Regions from separate parts of the Homo sapiens genome. Here regions 2 and 3 are each linked to region 1. The links are contacts of gene promoters, found by promoter capture Hi-C in blood cells and fetal thymus (Javierre and others, 2016). All regions are on one chromosome and are shown on one strand. Each heading gives the region's core, a stretch centred on a gene start or on the middle of the fragment in contact. The rest is flanking DNA. Distances are from core to core; before and after follow the strand shown.

Region 1 (3,117 bases), core at 183-2,682:
AGAGACGGGGGTCTCACTTCATTGCCCAGGCTGGTCTCGAACTCCTGGCCTCAAGTGATCCTCCCGCTTGGGCATCCCAAAGTGCTGGGATTACAGGCATGAGCCACCATGCAGGACCACACATTTGTACTTATAATTTTATTTTCAGTACACTCTTGGGGAAAAGATGACAGACCTTCACTTGATCAATAATGAAATTGAGGCTCCAGTTGGCTAAGTAGTTTGTCTAATGGCCTGTCACTAGCAACTGAATCAAAACTCTGATGATTTGTATTCCAGTCCTATGTTCTTTCCCCTGGGGGAGAAGTAGCTGCCTAGCCAGTGGTCTATGAATATAAGACATCATTACCAGCAACTTCACACCCTATGGTGCAGAGAACATACAAAAGTCAAAGATAAGCACAAGTTACTATCATAACACAGAAATTCAAAGACCCTGAGTAATTTGCTGCAGACTTCAGATGACTGGACAATCATGGCCTGAGGCAGTCCCTGCTACCCCCTCTTGCCTTCTAGATACAAGACTGAAAGCTGCCCTGGTGACACATTGCAGAGATTTTAGTAAATAAAGAAGAATGTGTTTCTCAGAGCCAACGCCCAAATCTTCATAGCTGGACCCAACCCAGACCAGGAGTCTTCATAGCGAGTGAACCCTTAGGTAAGTGTCATACTTAAGTCTCATGAGTCTTCTGCTTAAGAAATAAACTACTAGTGGTTCCCAAACCTACCTGCACTGATCAGAATGATTCTGGGAGAGTTTTCAAATAAAGATCTTTCAATTCACACAAGGCCTGGAGACTTAGAAATGCCAAAGGTGAGAGCCTGGGGAATGTATGTTTTAAAATTCAGCCAGCCTGGAAATCCACTGGTTTTTCTCATGTCTTAGTGCTGCAGTGTGATACAGAGAGGAAAGATGCCTGCTTTTATTATCTAGTGGGCAAGCTAAGTTAGGCTGCATCCTTTAAAGGCTGCTTCCAGAAGAGTCTTCTCTGCTACCCAAGGCCCCTGTATCAGTAGGAAGGTCCCGGGCATATCCGCCTGGTTACCTGTGAAGTCAGTTGTCTCACTCCCTTTGGCTGCACATCAAACCCCCACACAACCCCGGGAAGGCTTTTTCTGAGGTCGGTTTACCAATTTCTTTGTGAAGCAGACCCTAGCCTACAAAGGTGAGGGGCATCTCCAGCAGAAAGAATCTCAGAGCGTGGATCATCTCTCACCCCCAACCACCGCCAAAGGGGCCTGGCTGCCTCCCCATGGGACTCTTCTCTGCCCTAGACAGCCAGCTACTGGCTTGGAAAAAGAAAAAGGGAAAAGGAAAAGAAAGAAGGTAGTTCAGGCCCCGGTGGCCAGCACCCTCAAGGAGGACACGAGCAGTTCTTACCTGGAGATGGAAGAGGAGCTGCTCTGTTCGTTCACTCAGGAATTCTGTCTCTGCAGGTGAGCATTAAGCTTGCAACTCACTGGACTTTGAACAAAGATTGATTTAAAAGCTAATGTATTTAACAGGGACATGTGGTCTGAATTCAAGTGACCTCTGTCCTGCTTCCTGCCAGCTGGCTGGGCCCTGAGCTGGAAAATCTGACAAACCTCAGCAAACCAAAAGCTCTGGCCCACCTGCCTGGCCCTGCGGGGAGGCCGCTGCTCGCCAGCCACTCCCAGAGAACAAGGAGGGGAGAGGGGGTGAAGGACAGCCAGGGAGGAGGTGCCTCCGCTTTCCTTGGTACTCTCCCTTTGGCAGATACCTTGGTTACACCCAACCAACCCCCAATCCTGTTAGGATCCTCCAGTCCCCCATCCTGGGGTCAGGGCCGAGGCTCATACAGGAGTATCCTCAATCACTGAGGCCTCCCCAAGGAGCAGTAGCCTATAAAACTCCCACCCACGAGGCCAGTAAGCCCCAGGAAATGGGGCCAAGCACTCAGGGCACCCATCCTGCTTCCCTCTGCCCTGGATTCTCACTTGTGTGCTCCCTAGGAGTTTAGCAAGCAAAGCCCTAGAGCAAGCAAAGCCCTTGTTCTTGTGTCCCAGGCTTCCTTCTTCTTATCCACTCTCTCCCCTCTCTTTTTTTCTTCTCTTTCTCACCTGATGGTGCTCTTTCTATTCTCCAGCCTAGCGATAATTGTCTTCCCCTTCACACACTCAGAGCCTCTCGGGCAAGCCCAGCAGGGTAGGTGGAAGGCATTTTTACAAACCCCTCCATCCTGCTGCCTTGCTGCCCGAGCAGTAGGCTGGTGCCCGTGTGCTCAGCCGCTAGCCCTAGCCATGATCAGCAGCTGATCCCTATCAGCAGCACCCACACAGACAATTCTATCACTGGCCTTCTCACTGACCTGAATCCTCAGCCCACAATGCAAATCAGGGCAAGAGATTGCTCCCGGCACTGAGGCAAAGCAAACCACAGGCCGAGGACTGGGTGACCTCACCCCTCTTCCACCCACACTGGAAGAGCCATTTGTCTTTGCTGGGCCTTGGCTTGGCCCCCAACAAAGACATGACCTGAGCCCATGGATAAACGGTTTAAAATGACATTGAGCAGCTTCCTCATACCAGCTTATCTTCCTCCACCTCGGGGCTAAGCCCTCCTGGCCTCCTCTATATCTTTCAAAGCAGAAGGTAGAATGGGAAAATCTGGATTTAGGATCAGAACACCTGAGTTCATCGCAATCCCAGCAATTTGTGAGGCCAAAGCGGGCAGATTGCCTGAGCTCAAGAGTTCGAAACCAGCCTGGGCCACATGGCAAAACCTTGTCTCTACAAAAGGTACAAAAAGCCAGGCATGGTGGTGCATGCCTGTAGTCCCAGCTACTCTGGAGGCTGAGGTGGGAGGATCACTTGATTGAGAGGCAGAGGTTGCAGTGAGCCGTGATCATGCCACTGCACTCCAGCCTCAATGACAGAGCGAGACCCTGTCTCCAAAAAAAAAACAACAAAACAAAAAAGAAAGAAAGAACACCTGAGTTCAATTCTGACGCCACCATTTCCCATTTCCCAGGTGTTTGATCCAGAGTAATTCATTTTTAACTCTCTGGGTCTCACCTTCATCATGTATAAATAGTTGTTATTGTATGGTTTTTAGAAATTTTTAAAAATTGCTGTTGTTGTTGTTGTTGTTTGAGA
Region 2 (2,980 bases), core at 349-2,848, 82 kb after region 1:
ACACGGTGAAACCCCATCTCTACTAAGAATACAAAAATTAGCCAAGCGTGGTGGTGCATGCCTGTAATCTCAGCTACTTGGGAGGCTGAGGCAGGAGAATCACTTGAACCTGGGAGGCAGAGATTGCAGTGAGCCAAGATCGTGCCCTTGCACTCCAGCCTGGGCAAAAGAGTGAGACTCCGTCACAAAAAAAAAAAAAAAAAAAAGAAAAAGATTTTAGGTTGGGCACGGTGGCTCATGCCTGTAATCCCAGCACTTTGGGAGGCCAAGGCAGGCGGATCACTTGAGGTCAGGAGTTCAAGACCAGCCTGGCCAACACGGCAAAACCCCATCTCTACTAAAAATACACAAAAATTAGCAGGGCATAGTGTCAGACACCTGTAGTCCCAGCTACTGGGCAAGCTGAGGCCCAAGAATCATTTGAACCTGGGAGGCAGAGGTTGCAGTGAGCCGAGATCGAACCACTGCACTCCAATCTGGCAACAGAGCAAGACTCTGTCTCAAAAAAAAAAGAAAAAAGAAAAAAGATTTTATAGTTTTGTTCACATAAACAAAAAAGGAATATGTAATAGTCACTTTCAGAAATATTTCCCCTTTTTATCAGCTGTATACCTTTATGAAGGCCAATAAGAACAAATTCCAAGCATTACAAACCCATATATTAATATCACCCTGGAAAGATGGCCTAAGTTTGACAGCAATAATCTTTTCTTTTTTCTTTTTTTTGAGACACAGTTTCACTCTTGTTGCCCAGGCTGGAGTCTTGGCTCACTGCAACCTCCACCTCCCGGTTTCAAGTGATTCTCCTGCCTCAGCCTCCCAAGTAACTGGAATTACAGGCGCCCGCCACTATACCCAGCTAATTTTTGTGTTTTTAATGGAGACGGGGTTTCACCATGTTGACCACGCTGGTCTTGAGCTCCTGACCTCAGGTGATCCACCCACCTCAGCCTCCCAAAGTGTTGGGATTACAGGCGTGAGCCACCACACTGGCCAAATAACCTTAATAAGAACAAGAGATTCAAGGCCTCCTCAAAGCAGAGTAACAATTGGTTTTCCTGGCTAGAACAGCCTGTTTACCTGATTAGGTATCTTTGTCAGAAGTCACTCCCTAACCCGCCAAAGAGGTATAACAGCAGTTTACCTTCAGACAGCAGAGTGGTCACTAAAAACCAACTAATAATCTAAGAGAAGCCCCAAGTCTCAGATAATAAATGAAAACTTACCAGATTTACTCTGACATGCGTACAGATGTACATGGAATGCCACATACAATCAGGAGCAGTGCGTATCACCACATCTGCTATGATATCACTTTCCAAATTTTCCCATTTTTCTTTCTTTTTCCTCTCCCATTCTTCTGCCCTCTCTTGTGCAAGCTCATGCACTCACTCTCTCTCTCTCACTCTCGCTCTCTCTGTAGAGTGTAAGTTGTAAAACAAATTCAACTTACTCAGTCCATGCTGAGAGAAAATAGTTTTGATAATAGAATGTCTGATTTATTCATGAGCTTGTACAATACCTGGAATCATCTGTCACTTCTTCAATAAAGCCTGATTCACATCTGGGACATATATATTCCTATAAAAGAAAGGAAGAAACAAATAAAACTTTTTCATTAGAAAGCTACGTGGTATCTGTAGTTTCAGAATAACATGCAGTATACAAGCTGAGGCTCTGAAATGTTCTATGTACTCGCTGACTCAAGTAGTTTTTGTTTTTTTTTTTCTTTTGTGAGACAGGGTCTCACTCTGTCACCCAGGCTGGACTGCAGTGGTATGATCATGGCTCACTGCAGCCTCCATCTCCCAGGCGCAAGAGATCCTCCTGCCTTAGCCTTCAGAGTAGCTAGGACCACAGGCACATGCCAACATACCTAATTTTTTTTATTTTTTGTAGAGGATGAGGTCTTGCTATGTTGCCCAAGCTGATCTCAAACTCCTGAACTGAAGTGATCTTCCTGCCTCAGCCTCCCAAAGTGCTGGAATTACAGGCATAAGCCACTGAGCCCAGCCTAGTTTTTTTTCTTTTTTTTTTGTTTTTCTTTTTGTTGCCCAGGCTGGAGTGCAATGGCATGATCTCGGCTCACGGCAACCTCCACCTCCTGGGTTCAAATGATTCTCCTGCCTCAGCCTCCCAAGTAGCTAGGATTACAGGCATGCGACAACACGCCTGGCTAATTTTGTATTTTTAGGAGAGACGAGGTTTTTCCATGTTGGTCAGGCTAGTCTCGAACTCCCGACCTCAGCTGAACTACCTGCCTCAGCCTCCCAAAGTGCTGGGATTACAGGTGTGAGCCACCACACCCGGACTTCTTTTTTTTTTTTTTTTTTTTTTTTTGAGATGGAGTCTCGCTCTCTTGCCCAGGAGCTAGAGTGCAATGGTGTGATCTCAGCTCACTGCAACCTCCACCTCCTGGGTTTAAGTGATTCTCCTGCCTCAGCCTCCCAGGTAGGTGGGATTACAAGCCCCTGGCTAATTTTTGTATTTTTAGTAGAGACAGGGTTTCACCATGTTGGTCAGGCTGGTCTCAAACTCCTGACCTCAGGCGATCCACCCGCCTCGGCCTCCGAAAGTGCTGGGATTACAGGCACGAGCCACCACGCCCAGTCCCGGCCTAGTTTTTTCTATTATACTCTGGCAAATATAGAATTCCATAAAATATTTGCAGAATTGCTTCATAGCTACCTAAGTGGTTTCCACTGACAGCTGAAAGGTAGAGTGTCAAAGATTTTTTTATTTTAAAATTTAGGTTATTTATTTGTTTATTTAGAGACGGAGTTTCACTCTTGTTGCCCAGGCTGGAGTGCAATGGTGCGATCTTGGCTCACCACAACCTCTGCCTCCCAGGTTCAAGAGATTCTCCTGCCTCAGTCTCCCGAGTAGCTGGGATTACAGGCATGCAACACCACGCCTGGCTAATTTTGTATTTTTATTAGAGACGGGGTTTCTCCATGTTGGTCAGGCTGGTCTTGAACTC
Region 3 (3,260 bases), core at 512-3,011, 98 kb after region 1:
GGAATACAGGTGCCCGCCATTATGCCCAGCTAATTTTTGTATTTTTAGTAGAGATGGGTTTCACCACATTGGCCAGGCTGGTGTTGAACTCCTGACCTCAAGTGATCCACCTGCCTCAGCCTCCCAAAGTGCTGGGATTAGAGGCGTGAGCCACCGCACCCAGCCACCTTTATCATTTTGTTCCTTAATTCAGGCCATGATTGAACACTGACATTACAGATTCCAAACAGGAGTGCATAATCAACCAAGCTTCTTTAGCTCATTGTGTACCAAGGCAGAAAATCAGGTCACAAGACAAAGTGTTACTTGATACAAGCTTGATCAGATGGTCAAGAAGCCAAATTTTCTAAGGAAGAAACACACAGGACTACAAGAATTACCAGAGAAAATGTTAATTAACCTCAGACAACATAATATAGCAGAAAAGATTTATAGTGTTTTTGGCTTGCTCACACTAAAGGCAGCAAGAAAGGGAACAACCCAGTGGCATAAATATAAAATGATAAATGAGCCAAAAAGTATAGATGTTTAGCTCTGATGTGTACCACAATAGTTTAGAAGTAAAATGTACTTTCTTGCTTTTAGCTTAGGCTGACAGAATCTTCTTTGACAAAGTGACAACATTCATTCACTCAGCAAAAATTCTAAGCTCTACATTCCAAGCATTGTGTAGAAAGAAAAATAACCTGGGATTAAAAGTCACTAAAATCACCTACAAAGTATATGCTCTGATAAAATCATACTTCCCTTAACCATATTCTAGTAGTTAGGGAAGTCAAAAGGCATATAAAATGAACTTCTGAATATCCTAGTCTTAGGTACTTAGCCTCGAAATGAGAACTAAGCAATGCTTCAGAACAGCCTAAGTGGTTAGAGTAATGAATGTGAAGCAAAACAAAGCTGGACTGGTAATCATTTCAACTATGTATGTGCACTTCAAAACATCATGTTGTCCACCTTAAATGCATGCATGCATGCACACACACACACACACACACACACACACACACAATCAGACTGGAAACACAGAATAACCAACCAGTTGTGTGACACTGGGTAGCTCACTTCATCTAAATGAGATAGTACCGGGAATATACTAAATTCTCAACAAACTGTAGGTTCTAATAAATTATTCTGAGTGATTTGGATATGGAATATTTCTCAAACCACGTTTCACAGGATATTAACCAGTGGTTAAGGTGGGGAGAAAAACTAGATTTAGAAAAGCCTGAACTAAATATCAAACATGCTGCTTTAATGAATGATTTTTCAGAACCATTAATATGCCATTCCATGTCATAAAAGGGGAAGTGGAGGGATGGAGATAGGGCAACAATTTGGTATGCAATATTTTACCATAATTCTGAACTCCTATTAAATCTCCTGGCACACAGTTTGAGAAACACTGATCTAGACTACTGATTTCCATACTTTTGGTTCCCATAAAGCAGTTCAATTTTCAAATTAAAAAATTGGAAACCTGCAAGGATTGCCAGCTTTTTTATTTTGCCAAGTATAAATATTAAAAAAAAAACCATCTACCATCACCATTTCATTTTAAAAAGTACTATTTTACCATGTACCCACAGAGCAATCAGAGCTTCTGACTGAGAACTCTTCATCGAAATAAAAGTAATACTTGGAATTCTAGCATTGACTTGCCATCAATGACATAGGAGAATTTCACAAGTATGATCTAATTCAACTCACAGCAGGAACATTCAAGTCAGGAAAGATCACATACAAACTGGTTGTTAACAGTAGCCACTGACCATTGGATTAAGAAAACAATTAATTAACTGAATACAACTTTAAAAACAAAAGCAATGTAAATGCAACCTCAAAGCAAACAAAGAATATTTATAAAATAGTTCTAAAAAAAAAATTATCCAGGCCAAGTTTACCTGTTACTGAATCCCAAGTCTTCAAAAAAAAAAAAAATGAAGTTTTAATTTATTCAGTCAACATTACCAGCATTATTGCTTTGTTTGATTTATAAAAGGAAAATTTTGACATTGCTTTGCATTATGTCCTCCATCCTAACATTTTCAAGACTGTTCATCATTATAAGATAAAATATGCACTAATAGTTTGTAACTCATAAAGGAGATTATTTCAGGGGTAAAATTTAAATCCTAGTATGTCAGTGGCTACCACATGATCTATGTGGAAAAACTACAGAAGAAAATTCCCTTACACAAAATCCAAAAATACCCCAGAGCTCAAATCACTAAACCGTAGCTAGCAGGAATAAACACAACTATCTCATTTTACAGACAAGGAAAATGAAGACCCTGAAAGGTTCAATAATTTAACAGCTAAAATAAAACATTTTTTCCCACAGTACTAGAATACAATTTATATATAATTAATTAAAATAAATAAAATCAGCTATAAAAAGGGCTGACAACAGTTGCAAAATGAGGGCTAGTTGTTAGTTCTTACAACAACAATATCTCAGACCTGAAATGGGCAAAAAGGCATTTGCTCTAATCCAGAGATAGCTACATTAATTTAATGTTTAAATGAGATATTAAATTTAAGTCCAGGCACAGTGGCTCACGACTATAATCCCAGCACTTTGGGAAGCTGAGGCGGGTGGATCACTTGAGGTCAGGTGTTCAAGACCAGCCTGGCCAACAGGGTGAAACCCCGTCTCTACTAAAAATACAAAAATTAGCTGGGCATTGTGGCCCACACCTGTAATCCCAGCTGCTCAGGAAGCTGAAGCAGGAGAATCGCTTGAACCCGGGAGGCAGAGGTTTCAGTGAGCTGAGATCGTGCCACTGCACTCCAGCCTGGGCAACAGAGGAAGACTCCATCTCAAAAAAATAAAATAGATAAATAAATAAATAAATATTAAATTTAAAGAAAGCCAAAAGGAGAAGAAAATATTTAAATCCTGATTTTACTACCCATTTTTCTCAACATTTTATTAATCTCCGTACTTCTTCCTGAATATAGCTGATATAGTTTGGATATGTGTCCCCTCTAAATCTCATGTTGAAATTTGATCCCCAATGTTGGAGGTAGGGCCTAGTGGGAGGTATTTAGGTCATGGACGCAGATCCCTCATGAATGTCTTGGTGCAGTCCTTACAGGAATGAGTGATGTGGTTGTTTAAAAGAGTGTGGTACCCCTCCCCTTTCTCTCTTGCCTTGCGGAACACCTGCTTCCCCTTGGCCTTCCACTATGACTGGAAGCTTCCTGAGGTCCCACCAGAAGCAGATGCTGGTGCGAAGCTTCTTGTACTGTCTGCA

What was found. Contacts are between HindIII fragments. The CHiCAGO score rates a contact against its expected background, and 5 or more counts as called.
Region 2: a fragment that was not itself captured here is called in contact with the fragment with the promoter of PDZK1 in region 1 in 1 of 17 cell types (erythroblasts); the score reaches 5.9 in erythroblasts.
Region 3: a contact is called between a fragment that was not itself captured here and the fragment with the promoter of PDZK1 in region 1, in 2 of 17 cell types (M2 macrophages and erythroblasts). The highest score is 7.1, in M2 macrophages.

The regions. Positions count from the first base shown.
Region 1 is chr1:145,705,936-145,709,052 of GRCh38, forward strand. PDZK1 (PDZ domain containing 1) reads right to left here and starts at 1,433. Exons shown (of 9, transcript NM_001201325.2): 1 at 1,382-1,433. RefSeq lists an enhancer at 481-1,680. The HindIII fragment of the contact is 4,747 bases long and covers 1-3,117 here.
Region 2 is chr1:145,787,386-145,790,365 of GRCh38, forward strand. RNF115 (ring finger protein 115) reads right to left here. Exons shown (of 9, transcript NM_014455.4): 2 at 1,523-1,581. Among named protein-coding and RNA genes, the nearest start is that of RNF115, 35 kb to the right of the region's middle. The HindIII fragment of the contact is 5,543 bases long and covers 1-2,980 here.
Region 3 is chr1:145,803,523-145,806,782 of GRCh38, forward strand. All of the region lies in intron 1 of RNF115 (ring finger protein 115), which reads right to left. Among named protein-coding and RNA genes, the nearest start is that of RNF115, 19 kb to the right of the region's middle. RefSeq lists an enhancer at 1,462-1,970. The HindIII fragment of the contact is 2,887 bases long and covers 319-3,205 here.